Linked DNA regions of Homo sapiens: region 1 is linked to region 2. The links are contacts of gene promoters, found by promoter capture Hi-C in human tissues and cell types (Jung and others, 2019). All regions are on one chromosome and are shown on one strand. The core of a region is centred on a gene start or on the middle of the fragment in contact, and the rest is flanking DNA. Distances in the headings are between cores, read along the strand shown. Region 1 has its middle 73 kb from the start of ICE1. Region 2 holds the start of ADAMTS16 (ADAM metallopeptidase with thrombospondin type 1 motif 16).

Region 1 (6,639 bases), core at 2,715-5,214, 350 kb before region 2:
ACTAACAAACCACCAGGACCTTGCCAGAATAACAAAATGCAGTGCGGTTTTGTTAATGCAAAGAAATGTCTTTTTTCTGTGTGTGTTTTGCTTGTTTGTTGTTTTTTTGAGACAGAGTCTTGCTGTGTTGCCCAGGCTGGAGTGCAGTGGCATAATCTTGGCTCACTGCAACCTCCACCTCCCAGGTTCAAGCAATTCTCCTGCCTCAGCCCCCTGAGTAGCTGAGGTTACAGGCATGCACCACCACGCCTGGCTACTTTTTCATATTTTTAGTAGAGACGGGTTTCACCATGTTGGTCAGGCTGGTCTCAAACTCCTGACCTCAGGTGATCCTGCCTCAGCCTCCCAAAGTGCTGGGATTACAGGCGTGAGCCACCGCACCCAGCCCAAGAAATGTCTTTTGAGCGGAAATGTCTTGTGAGGTCAAATTCTCATTATCTGAATGGACATTTCTTGGGGGCACTGTATTTTGTGTCGAAAAAAAGTTTTAAGCCCTACCAAAAATTTGGGGATGACTCTTATAAAAATATGATTTATGATACACTTGTCTTGTTTCATAATTGCTACACCAAGACAAAAGACAATTACCAGGGGTGCAAGGAGCCCCATGAAGCCATGAGAAACTATAGGTGCTCCCCTTTCCACCTCGATCTGAAAGACATGCAAGTATTCCTAACCCTTTTTAACAACAACAATTCCAGGCAAGTTATATTGCGATTATTTTTTAATAATCACTATCACAATAATACAGACATTCCTGTAGGCTAAATGCCTTTTAATAAAGGACTCTATCATCTTTCCCCAGAGACTTTTTTTTTTTTTTTTTTAACCAAAGGAAACGTAGTGGTCAGAAAACACAGGGCAACAGGCCAGGAAGGGCTTTCTCCTCACAGCTGCACACTTTCACTCGCACAACCAAGTCTTCCTGAGCAGGGGGTGCGCAGGGCTCTCCTTTCTGGAGGTCAGATTCGGGTTGTCCAAACATTTGCCAATGTGACTGTGGTTTTCCATTAAGATATAGTGAGTCTTGGATTATCTGCGAGTGGTCAGGGTGGGAGCAGGTTCCTTGGCAGGTGGGAGAGGTGCCCTGGGGCGGGCAGAGCGCTGGGCATGTGCAGTTTGGCCATCCCACAGGGTCAGTGACTCTGCAACCCTCCTTCAAAACACGGTGGGGCACAGCAGGATGCAAAGACACAGAGACAGATTACTTCATCGCAAACATGCTTTTGCCTCTGAACTCCAACTCCTGAAACATTCCAAGGTGTTATTTTCTTACAAAACTGTTGCAATATTCGAAAAGTATCTAATTTCTCAATGCTGTCTGTAAAGCTCTTTATTGGAAGTTCCCTCTCAAGCGCTTTAGAAGCGTTGCCGCCACTGGCTCATGCAGTCTTTGCTTCTGTGGAAACGGCCCCTTTGAAATATACATGAGGAACATGTTTGAAAAAAGATGGCATTGGGTGGATTTGAAATACGCCTTTTGTTTCTTTTCTTTCCTAAGCCTGTTCTTGGTCTGAAGAAGGAGAGCTTCCATATGAAAGAACCGTTTTGAGAGCCAGGGTTCATGATCAAAGCGCAGAGCTCTCCCTGCTGGGGAGGACAGGCGGCTGCAGGGCTCACGTGGGCACCAGAGCCGGGGAACTGAATCAACATTATTTCCCACTAAAAACACTTGTATGGGGTTAGTAATAACAGTAACCAAAAAATCAGCTTGGGAAGCCAGGCATAGCATGTTTTTTGTTTGTTTGTTTGTTTTAGTTTGAAGATTTCTGTCTCCCTGACTCCTTTCTCTTTGCTCACTCGGGCATATTGTGGAATTTAAATGAAAAGAATTGTCAGATGAAAGACAAAATGAACCTCAACCTGTGAATAATAATAATAAAAAAAACCCTTCACAATTGCATAGCTTTTTTCTTAAGTGCATTAAAAAATAGATACGTAGAGCTAAAGAAAGCCAGAAATAAGGAAAGTAAGCTTATAGTTCCTAGAATTATATTCACGTTACTTTAGTTTATCCAATGCCAGTGCTTCTATTTAGAAATTAACATGCTGCACTTCAAAACTGCGTCAAAATCCAGAAAACTTACTTTCTCATCTCGAAGCAAGTTTTACAAACACAAAGATGCATTTAAAACATTATTCCGGATGATTGCCAATGTGATAGGGGTTAAATTTCTGTCTCTTAAAAAATACGAAATAGAAAAGGTCAGGAGAGAGTGCTTTAAAAATTCTATTTTCTGCTCCACTGCAGACTTAACAAACAGATTTTCAACATGCAAATAAAGGATGGCCCTCCGTTACAGAAATTCAGAACAAAAGTTGTTGGAACCCTCGGCTTCGACTGCAAGTCACAATTTCCCTCCTTCCATGAAGGTGCAGCAACCACAATGCAGATGGCTCTCCTGGACAACGGAATATGTTTCCCGTTTCTCAAGCAGGAAGAATAAGTATGTAATTGGCATTCTGGAGAATGACCTGCAAGAGAAGCTCATTGTTTCATAAAGCACTTTCGCATTTTAAGGTAGGCACAGGGTCCTGTTTGGTTTTCTCCTCCTTGGCGAACACATGTCTCCTGGAACACAGCGACACAGCTCTAAAGAGCATCGCTGCTGCCAGGGCATTGTGAGCTCAATTCTGCATTTACAGATGTGTTTCCACACTAACAAGGCCCTGGATTAAGTAAACATCCTACAATTTGTAGGTTCTTCCGCCTTGTAGACCATTTCCCCTTCTTCCCGGGACACGAGGGGTGATTTGAAAGAGAAGCTTATGAACAGCTTCTGAGTGACTAATGGGAGCGTCCTGGAATGGCTGGGGTGGCTCAGGATCACCTGTTCGATAGGCTCAGGACCCTGGAGCTTTCCCCATACACCTTTTTTATGTCTGAGGCAGCTGTAGGGCTGACAGAGAACCTCATTTAGCAGAAGACATTCCTGTAGGCTAAATGCCTTTTAATAAAGGACTCTATCATCTTTCTCCAGAGACTTTTTTTTTTTTTTTAACCAAAGGAAACGTAGTGGTCAGAAAATACAGGGCAACAGGCCAGGAAGGGCTTTCTCCTCACAGCTGCACACTTTCACTCGCACAGCCAAGTCTTCCTGAGCAGGGGGTGCGCGGGGCTCTCCTTTCTGGAGGTCAGATTCGGGTTGTCCAAACATTTGCCAATGTGACTGTGGTTTTCCATTAAGATATAGTGAGTCTTGGATTATCTGCGAGTGGTCAGGGTGGGAGCAGGTTCCTTGGCAGGTGGGAGAGGTGCCCTGGGGCGGGCAGAGCGCTGGGCATGTGCAGTTTGGCCATCCCACAGGGTCAGTGACTCTGCAACCCTCTTTCAAAACACGGTGGGGCACAGCAGGATGCAAAGACACCGAGACAGGTTACCTCATCGCAAACATGCTTTTGCCTCTGAAGTCCAACTCCTGAAACATTTCAAGGTGTTATTTTCTTACAAAACTGTTGCAATATTCTAAATGTGACTATTATTCAAAAATCAAAATGTTTACTTTATTTGAGGTTTTGCTACATTTTTACCAAGGATAGTTTTAAGAATCTCGCTGGTGTTGGCTTGGACTCGGGGATCCCGGCACACACGTCCAGCAAGTGTGGGGTTCCAGCACAGCCGCCGTGGAGGATCTGGGGCACAGGGGCCTCAGGCCTGACAGCGCCCGGTCCCTGGCGGCGAGCCAGGAGGCGCACCCCTAGAGGAAGCTCCTGCATCCCAAATCCTAAGCCCCGCGCCAGCGAGCCTTCCCGCAGCCTGCCCAGCAGCTTCGCTTCCAAGGGTCACGAGCTTCCCCAAGTAACCCGAAGCCCACGGAGGCCTCGACCCTTCCACCCCAGGGGACAACTTCCCCAGTGGAAGCGCACGCACAGGGCCGGAGTATGCACTGGCAGGAATAAGTAGCTGAAGAGGGCAGAAGGAGGCACCTCAAGTTTTATCCACCTCTGCGACGACTGTAAGTGACCAACGCGCAGGGAGTGCAGCACGGCGAGGTCACTGTTAGGCACCTGCCGGCAGGCCTGCGGGGCGGGGTTGCAGAGTCGGAGGCGGGGCTGTGGGTTCGGAGGTGGGGCTGCGGGGGCGGGGCTGCAGAGACTGGGCTGCAGAGATGGCGCTGCGGAGGCTGGGCCTGCGCTGCGGGTTCGCAGCTTCGGGTACCAGGATTGCAGGGGCGGGGCTGCGGGGGCGGAGCTGCGGGGGCGGGGCCGCTGGGCCTCAGGGCCTCAGGCTACGGGCGGGGCCGCCAGGGCGGGGCTACGAAGGCGGTGTCCTCAGCCCTGAGACCTCCATCTGCCCGGGCATCTCTGCGAGGGCAGCCAAAGACCCGCCAGTCAGTGCAGCCCCGGGAGAACAGGGCCTGGGCGACAGGGAGAGGGCATTCCAGTGCCGACCCGTTTCAATGTTTAATTTGCTATATGCATACAATAATACACAGGCAAGAGGAGGCTATTCAAGAATAGTATATATTGCATTACAAGTGAAACTATTAAAATGGATATAGTATAACAATAATTAATACAGAGAAACAATACCTAGGAGGGTCCGTTTATGGCTGTGGAAGGTCTGGTAGTTGAGGGTTTACATTCTCAGCTCCTCGCCTTCCCTTTTGAGTTTTTCAGTTGTGTACTCGTAATTTAGGGTGAGGTTATCTCAGAGCAGCAATTGATGACTGTTAAGGAAAAAGTAATATTCTTAAAGACTATGGGAAAAATTAAAAACAAAACCAGCTAGGGACTGGATTCAGTTCAAGGTGGTGGAAGGCAGTGAACAGCTTACCTTCTCCTCTTTCCAAATTTCCATGGAAATGGATCAAGGGATGGGACGGTGGGGAAAGCCATCTAGAGACCAGAGCTGTGACCCTCTGAAGACAGAAAGCAGCTGAGAAGGCAGAGGCCGCTCAGGCAGGGGGAGGGTGAGCAGACCTCGGGTGCAGAACAGAGCAGGCCGCAATGCTCAGAGAACTTACTGGGCAGTGTCTACCCAACTGCTGGGGGCATCCATGTCACCGGGAGGCACCCCCGGAGTTTCAAACTCAAGGGTTTTGGGTGAAGCTCTAGAATCTCCAGTCCTAAGAAGCCAGGTGTGATTTAGGCTCCCCACTGCCGACAGGCCCCGCGAAAGGTGCAGTTAAGAGAATGGCTGATGAGAGCTGGGCTCCAGGGTGAACGCTGGCACCTTGACACCCTGATGAGACACATCTTGTGTGCTTTGGAAGACAAGGTGGCCTGAGCCAAGGCATTCCAAGGTACTAACGTCCTTCACAAAAACACAAAGTTCTTCATGAAAGCAAGCAAAAGCATTCATTTTCATAGAAAACTGAATTATATCATTTTTATGGCTCTTCACTCACACTTCTGTTTTTGCCTCTGTCATCAGAACCTATTTCGTTGTGCAAAACAAACTGACTACAATACAGTGAGGGCGCTTTAATTCCTCAAAATTCCCCTTGGAGGGGCAAGAAAATGAACTTCTTGTTTCACAATTATGCACTCTGAATTTCCTTGAGAAAGCGTCAGGTAGATGGAAGCAAGCAAGAGAGGAAAGCATTTACAAGTTTATAGATCTGACTTTTTCAACTTTCTCCTAAATTTTTAAAACACCCCTCATTGAAACATTGTTGCATCCTAAGTCTTAATGAGGGCGGTTGATTAGATTTCCAGGTGTGAGCTCTATTCGCACTATAAATTCTTTGTAATATGGTTCTACACAAGATAATGCGTCAGGGATGCTTGAAAAAAGTAATGTTCAATGTGGGCAGGATGACTTAATTGACTAGTTTCTTTGCCTGCCAGTTCATCAGAGGAGAGTGACACAACCTGCCATTCACTTCACTGCCACTACCAATTACTCACCTGGTCACTTGCTTGTCTTTCTCCTTCCTTCCTTCCCTTCCTTCCTTCCTTCCTTCCTTCCTTCCTTCCCTCCCTCCCTCCCTCCCTCCCTCCTTCCTTCCTTCCTTCCTTCCTTCCTTCCTTCCTTCCTTCCCTCCCTCCTTCCTTCTCTTTCCTTTCTCTTTTTTTCTTTCTCTTTTTCTTTCCTCTTTCCTTCCTTTCTTTTTCTCTTTCTCTTTCTTTTCTTCTTTCTCCCTTCCTTCCCTTTCTTCTTGTTGTTTTTTGATCAAAGGACTTAAGTATTTGCTTTTTTCTTTTTTGAAATGTGCTCTTAAACACGAACTTTACATGTTATTCTATCCACACATTTTCCCCATTTACTTATTAATAATGGCCCTAGGAAGTGCAAGGAACACCCCAAACGTGAATGGAAATGCTTCCCTGATAGAAAGGCTCTCAGAGCGCCAAATTCTGCACCCAGACGACCTCTCCAGTTAAGGTTCCCTGTCTCTTCCGGATGGTTTGTTCATGGGTGAGTCTACAGTGCCCTCTAATGGCTACAGTGCAGTTCTTTCCAAGTCCAGGTATGAATTTATTTCTATTTCATGTTCCTTAAATATTGAACTTGCTGAATTACACTGCCACATCCTATTTTAAAAAACAAACAATGTAACAGAGTACTTTCTCTGTGAAAAATGACACTCCGAAGTGTGTAATCATCTTGCTGTCCGTCCACACTCTGTTGACCATTTTCACCCTCTTCACTGCTGCCCTGGCTTCCCACGCAAATACCATCATGTGCAGACG
Region 2 (7,599 bases), core at 5,026-7,525:
AAAGTTTTACTTGGCAATATTCCTCCTGCTTAATCTGCGCTGCAGTACTAGAAGAACATCTATGCGAAATCGAGGGAAAGTCCTGGTTACGCTCTCCTTTCCACCATCACCAACCTCGCCTCCCTACCTGGGGCTTGCGCTGTACTCACCAAGCCTTGGCAGGTTGAAAGGGCCACTGAGGAGTTTCTGTGTGATCGCAAAGAGCCTTGATAGAAACAGAAGTCCTCTGGCGGTAAAGTCTGCACAGACTTAGTGCCTGTCTTTCCCAACGTCTGCACAATAAAGCCAGGAGCCACTAGGCTGCTGGAAGTCCTCAGATCCATGTGGAAGTCGTGCCTGGAGCCTTTCAGCCGAAGGTGAAGAGACTCAACCTCGGACACGGGCACTGCTCTTCTCCGCCGCTGATGGTGCATGATTTCATGGGACACGTAATCGCCCCTGTGGTCAACCTCGTAGGCAGAGACCAGGTCATATTCTGAAATCAAAAGAGTGAGCAGAGGCTGAGTCATTTCGGAATTCCGAGAAGAATCAGGAAGTCTTAAGATATAATATTATTTTACCACATGACCTTTCCACCCAGTCAAAAATGATGAAGAAAAATGCAACACCTACCCATACTGAATTCAAAGTGTGCAATATGGAACATCACAGTTTAAAGAAAAAAATTGTAACAAGGGCCCCATAATGTGCTATTACCAAGCCAGGAAATTCTCCAACAGTGATGCGGTGATGTTAACAGCTGTCATCTGCCCTCCCAGCCACTCAGGGGCATGCTCCTCACCTCCCACCAGCTCCTACCACTGTAGCTGAGTCAGGGGAAGGATGACAGAAAGCAGGATGGCTTGTTCCAAACAGTGGAAGGTTAGCACATTTTATTGTGTATAAAAAGGTGATTACTCTTTAAGAAATCAAATTATTCTCAGATGAAATAAGTCATATTCTTATGACCTTTATTTTGAAGAGAGAAAATATTCGTCCTTTACTGGGGGCACATATAATATTTATCATGCAAAATAACTACTGGTAAGCCATGTTTACATAAACACAATGCTGTGGTAATAAACATTCAACAACCCGCTGTCTGGAGAAGAACGACCTGGATTTTGGCATTTGCCAATTTCCCTGGTGTAAATCTTCCCCTCATGGCTGATTTCAATGACTGCTGTGCCATCACTGAATATTCAGTGCACAGAGATACGCAGCAGCCCCCAGTGTGTGATATTTCTACCATACAGATGCAAAAGAGGCCAGTGGCCTCAAGAGCCTAGATTATTATCAAATATAGTGAAATAATTATGAAATGATGAGCTTTGAGTATTGCAATGTTTTTAATATAATTAATTTCACTGTAAATGTATGTATTTTAATTATTCTCACAGTGATTTGGTGTCTTTATTAATACAGTATTTTTTCCATAAATGGGAAAGACGTATTTGAAAGACTTCAAACACAATAATCTTGCAAGAGGAAAAGTTTGTCCTATCTAAAAACTCATATATATAAGTGGTAGGCTCATAATCTCCGCGTTCAGGCAAACTGAACTCCAAGAAGCCCTGCAAGGCTCCCGTGAGGCCCCAGTTGTTTTCGGAGAGCTCAATTCCAAAAGGCTGGGGGAGACGGACAGAGCTCCATGCCTCGCCCACCCAACAGGAGCATCTCCCACGGGCTCCACCCTTCCCACTCTTTCCACAGTTGGCTGCTTAGATGGCACCTGACTGCAGCTTGCTCCAGACTCAAAGACAGAGCCTGTAACTCTCTAAGAGCAGAGGAATGTTCACGAGCACCCTAAGAGGATAGCAGGGAAGGAGAATCCAGAAAACAGAGACAGAAGGGTGGGACAGGTGGCAGGAGATGTATAGCCTTCTAAATAGAAATCAATCGCATTAACAAAAAATCAGTCCACCACCGGCCACCTCTTTCAAACGCTGCTGATATCAGGAAATAAAAATGACACTACCCTCCTAAAGTCGGCTTTGGCAATGAGTTGCAAAATACTTTGACCTGGGAAATCACCCTGAGGAAATAATCCCAGACGAATTTTAAAAAGTTTATGTAAATATTTTCATGGAAGTATTATTTGTAATGAGGTAAAATTTTAAACAATAATCAACAACGGATAATTGGTAACTAAATTACCATAAAGCTATAGAAAGGAATACCTTAAAGCTTGTAAAAATATACTCTAAAAGAATGAAATCTAAAATATTATTTCACCACATGAGGCAAAGTTGATCAAATAATGAGCTTTCAAAGTACGTTGTAAGCTCTGAAGCCAAAGTGACCTTTTAAAGGAAAAAAAGTGTAGCCTGTAAGGAACACAGGGCAATAAGTAAATTCTTGTAGATTATCTGGACAAAATGCAGAAGGCAAATAGTAAAGGCAGAGGGGGGTAGGAAGAGAAACTAGCACAATTCTATTTTATATTCTCTGCATTGTTATTATGTTCGCTAGTGAGCATGTGACCATTGATTTTTTTTTTGTTATAATTTAAGTTCTGGGATACATGTGTAGAACGTACAGGTTTGTTACATAGGTATACATGTATCATGGTGGTTTGCTGCACCCATCAACCTGCCATCTACATTAGGTATTTCTAATGCTATCCCTCCCCTTGCCCCTCACCCCCCAACAAGCCCGGTGTGTGATGTTCCTTTCCCTGTGCCCATATGTTCTCAGTGTTCAACTCCCACTTACGAGTGAGAACATGCAGTGTTTGGTTTTCTGTTCCTGTGTTAGTTTGCTGAGAACGATGGTTTCCAGCTTCATCCATGTCCCTGCAAATGACATGAACTCATTCTTTTTTTATGGCTGCATAGAATTCCATGGTGTATATGTGCCACATTTTCTTTATCCAGTCTCTCATTGACGGGCATTTGGGTTGGTTCCAAGTCTTTGCTATTGTGAATAGTGCTTCACTAAACATATGTGTGCATGTGTCTTAATAGTAGAATGATTTATAATTCTCTGGGTATATACCCAGTAATGGGATTGCTGGGTCAAATGGTATTTCTTGTTCTAGATCCTTGAGGAATCGCCACACTGTCTTCCACAATGGTTGAACTAATTTACACTCCCACCAACTGTGTAAAAGTGTTCCTATTTCTCCACATCCTCTCCAGAATCTGTTGTTTTCTGACTTTTTAAAGATTGCCATTCTAAATGGCGTGAGATGGTATCTCGTTGTTGTTTTGATTTGCATTTCTCTAATGACCAATGATGATGAGGTTTTTTTCATATGTTTGTTGGCCGCATAAATGTCTTCTTTTGAAAATTGTCTGTTCATATACTTCACCCATTTTTTGATGGGGTTGTTTGTTTTTTTCTTCTAAATTTGTTTAAGTTTCTTGTAGATTCTGGATATTAGCCCATTGTCAGATGGATAGATTACAACAATTTTCTCTCATTCTCTAGGTTGCCTGTTCACTCTGATGATAGTTTCTTTTGCTGTGCAGAAGCTCTTTAGTTTAATTAGATCTTATTTGTCAGTTTTGGCTTTGTTGCAATTGCTTTTGGTTTTAGGTTTTAACATTTAAATAGTTAATCCACCTTGAGTTAGATTCTGTATAAGGTGTAAGGAAGGGTCCAGTTTCGGTTTTCTTCATATGGCTAGCCAGCTTTCCCAGCACCATTTATTAAATAGGGAATCCTTTCCCCATTGCTTGTTTTTGTCAGATGTGCCAAAGATCAGGTGGTTGTAGATGCGTGGTGTTATTTCTGAGGTCTCTGTTCTGTTCTATTGATCTATATATCTGTTTTGGTACCAGTACCATGCTTTTTTGGTTACTGTAGCCTTGTAGCATAGTTTGAAGTCAGGTAGGTAGTGTGTGACACCTCCAGCTTTGTTCTCTTTGCTATTTTGTAATTACTTCAGCCACCAAGAATGATTTGCAATAATAGTTTGAGTCATGCGCTACTTTAAACAAAATGTATGGCTACAATTAGTTATTTCAGAACCAACTTGTCTAATGGATACCTAGACAGGCAACAGTAAGTTGACCCCAGCAGTCACCAAGTGTCTTCTAGCTCTTCTGCTCCAGGTCAGAGGGAAACAGGCAACACTGTTGAGGAGGATCTTTTCTCTGGTGGCATAAAAGCTTGTTGTGGATGTCCAGACTCACACATTAGCCATTTATAATTAAGGAGCTAAAGTGCATAGAAGGTAGGGGAGGAGGGTGTGTGCTGTGTCCACTGGGCTAGAACTTCACTAAGAAGGGTTTGCCTCTTCCCCTTCAGGTTCTTACCAAGCCAGATAAGTGGTTGTCATGGAGACGATACGTTGTGACAACAACTGTGGTGCCAGGTGTTCAGAGCAGCACACTGGCACCCCACTCCCAGAGAGGATGCTGAAGCAGATTGAATCACTTTAGGAGAAAAGCACACTTAGGCACGAAGCCCTGGCTTTTCTTCTTCTTTCTTCTGTGTCTATAATGTGTTTTATCTTAAATAAAACTTCATAAATGCCATAAACTATTGTGGAAATCTCCTGAGTCCCTCTGGAATTTTCATGGTTTTAGGGAACTAGAATTTTTTTTTTTTTTTTTACAAAAATCTTACTTAAAAAGGTGAATTAGAATTAACCTTTAAAATTGTAAGAATTAACTTTTAGTATTGTAAGCAAAACCCTAAAAAGGACAAGGACAACCACAAGAGGATAGTCTGTAAATGGACAGATAATTAACTTTCTCTTGTAAATTCACTGTGACAATTTTTTTTAACATTTTATATCATTTGCACCTAGCGCCCCCTGGTGGTTCTCAAAAAGGTACTATGGTGAGCGTCAATCTGACACCGGTCACCTTATATACTATTTGTGTACTCATTTGGCAGGGAATAATTTCAAAAGTTAATGCATATATTAAGTGCTTGCCTTTATGTTATTTTATCAAATTGAAATAACTATACTGAGAAATTCTGAATTGTTAACTTTAATTTTCTAGATCTTCTGGAAATACATTGAGAGAATGAAACCTAGTTCTTCCTATAAAAGTCAATTAATATTAACATTTGATACGGCAATTTATTGTTGGTAACAATGCAAAATAATATTTATTAACTGTCATTGGATGGGTTCAGGTTAAAAAACCACCTAGCAACCAGTGCGACACACCTGCGTTCTCATTTACCTGATGCAGTATGAAGACACAGAGATCCCTTTCCATAAGACAGCAAATTTCCAAATGTCACTTGTAAGTGGCAGAAGTAAAAGCATGCATTGAAAAAGAATAAGACTTGCCCTCATGTCAAATTGTGGCCCAGGATATGAACGTTGCTGATGGTGTCACAATCAGCTGATTAGCCATTTCAGGCACTATTATGTTTGAAGTACGCCCTGATTGTTGGAGCATTAACTTTGGTATTGAGATGCTAAGCGCTTCTTTTATCTCCTTCACTGAGAATAAGCAACGATAGAGGAATATTTTAATCTATAAAGGAGGAGAAGGAGGAAAGGTTGGGGACGGGAAGGAGGATCCGAGGATGTAGAAGGGGACGGAAAAGAAAGTAATTTGCTCTTTATGACGGCTTTGATGCATACATTAATAGCTTTAGATTCTTCCTAAGCTCTTTAGAATAAAATAAAATGAACTTCCTCACCTTTTTCCTAATGTTATATCAATAACTCTGGCAAACCGTTTTGCCAGGGAATAAAATGTAAATATTGGTGGAAATCCACTCATCGGGGCTCGCTCATACAGTTAAAAAAAAAAAAAGTTCACAACAGCATCTTAAAAGTAGGGTTCCACAGAGTCGTGAACATTCACAGCACCTAATAAACCAGCGGCACGGAGATTACGAGCTGCTAAATGGCAAGGATTAGAAGCCCCCACCTCACGGACTTACCGCCCTTTTCCATCCAGCCCGGCCGCTCCGCGGGTGGAGGAGGACGCGGGACGCTCGGGCTCCCAGGCGCTGCCGCTGCGGGTCCCATGGCGCACGCAGGTGCCTGCGGAAAACAGCGGCGACATCGCGGTGAGACGGCGGGGTCCGCGGGAGAGGAGCCGCGGGGGACTCGCCTCCAGCTGTCCGGACCCGCGGTTTCCGCGCTGGTGGGAGCGCCCGGGACTCACCTGCTCGGCCACCTGCGCCAACAGCATCCACAGCGCCGCCAAGCCCCGCCATCCGCGCGCGCGGGGCTTCATCCAGGAGCGCTCCGAGGGGCTAGGGGCCACCGGAGGGTCCCCGGCCGGCAGCGTGCGAGCGGGCAGGGAGGACCCGACCCAGGCAGAGCGCGGGAGGATTCCCCACAGCGACTCCGCCGCCGCGCCGGGGTTATTACTGAAGCTCCGTGCGGCGCGGGGGGCGGAGTGGCAGCCGCGGCGGCGGGGGCGGCGGGAGCGGTGGGAGAGCGCGGGGCGGGCAGGGGAGAGAGGAGGGGAGGAGGTGAGGGCGGGGGGGTCAGAGGACCGAGGAGGGGAGAGTGCAGGGACAAAGAGCAGAGGGGAGGAGGCGAGGTCAGCGGGGCGCTGAGGCGGAGGCGAGCGGGGAGCAGAGGGAAGGCGGGAGACAGCGGGCAGCGCCAGAGGAGGAGGACGCGGGAAGATGGAGCTGCCCACGGCCTGCAGTCCGTGCCTCTCTGCCCGCGCGGGGACCACACAGTTGGAGAGGCTGCCGGGCACCGGCGCGGGCGATGCTCAGCATGGACCTCCGGCCGGTGCGCGCTCCTGCCCTGCCTTGGGGCTGGGGACTCGGCGGGACTCCAGCTACTGCAGTGGCTCCGCGGGCTCCCACCTCCGGGCCGCACCGGCGCCGCCAGAGGCCGGGACACCTGCAGCCCGCGGAGTGCGGTCTGGCCGCGCCTCTGTGCCCGGGCACAGCTGTGGGGACACTGGGTGCGGAAAACCGGGCGCCAGGACGTGGGAGAGCCGCGGACCTGCCTTTAAAGGCGCGTGCCTCGCTCTGGAGTTTGCGGAGCGATCGGAGACGGGGAGGCTGAGGAGGAAACTCTTCCCCCGCGCCATTTGCCCCGAGATGTGGCGGCGCTCCTGGCCCCGCGGTCACGGCCACCCTCAACTGGCCAGGCCGCGGAGGCCGGTGACTGGCTGCTGGGTGCAATCCCTAGGGAGGTCTCAGGGCTGCGGATGGGCCTGGGTCTCGGCCGCCACGGGGGTCGATCGGGCTACTGTGTGGACAGGGTGGCCAAGGAGGCAGCAGGTGTGCGGTCAACAGCCTGGCCAGAATTCTGCTGTAGCTGGATGGGGTGTGTGAGCGCGCGGGTGTACATGTGCCTGGGTGTGCGCGGGTGTACATCCACACCTGACTGCGTGTGCGCGAGTACACGCTGTGAGCCCATAGTGTGTCTGGAATTGGTGGGTTCTTGGTCTCACTGACTTCAAGAATGAAGCCGCATACCCTCGCGGTGAGTGGGTACAGCTCTTAAGGTGGTGCGTCTGGAGTTTGTTACTTCTGATGTTCAGATGTGTTCGGAGTTTCTTCCTTCTGGTGGGTTCGTGGTCTCGCTGGCTCAGGATTGAAGCTGCAGACCTAGGCGGTGAGTGTTACAGCTCTTAAGGCAGAGCCTCTGGAGTTGTTCGTTCTTCCCGGTGGGCTCGTGGTCTCGCTGGGCTCAGGAGTGAAGCTGCAGATCTTCACGGTGAGTGTTAC

The links. Contacts are between HindIII fragments. The study calls those that stand out against the background at their distance.
Region 1: a fragment that was not itself captured here is called in contact with the fragment with the promoter of ADAMTS16 in region 2 in 1 of the 25 tissues and cell types used here (heart right ventricle).

The regions. Positions count from the first base shown.
Region 1 is chr5:5,492,288-5,498,926 of GRCh38, reverse strand. No RefSeq gene overlaps it. Among named protein-coding and RNA genes, the nearest start is that of ICE1, 73 kb to the right of the region's middle. RefSeq lists enhancers at 587-1,109, 1,110-1,634 and silencers at 3,975-4,054, 4,095-4,144. The HindIII fragment of the contact is 3,187 bases long and covers 2,371-5,557 here.
Region 2 is chr5:5,139,006-5,146,604 of GRCh38, reverse strand. It overlaps ADAMTS16 (ADAM metallopeptidase with thrombospondin type 1 motif 16), which reads right to left and starts at 6,275. Exons shown (of 23, transcript NM_139056.4): 1 at 6,066-6,275; 2 at 5,839-5,941; 3 at 150-475. The coding sequence starts at 6,137. It overlaps ADAMTS16-DT (ADAMTS16 divergent transcript), which reads left to right and starts at 6,551. Exons shown (of 4, transcript NR_109915.1): 1 at 6,551-6,649. ADAMTS16-AS1 (ADAMTS16 antisense RNA 1) reads left to right here. Exons shown (of 2, transcript NR_198969.1): 2 at 4,234-4,467. RefSeq lists enhancers at 1-1,143, 6,503-7,069. The HindIII fragment of the contact is 9,507 bases long and covers 3,131-7,599 here.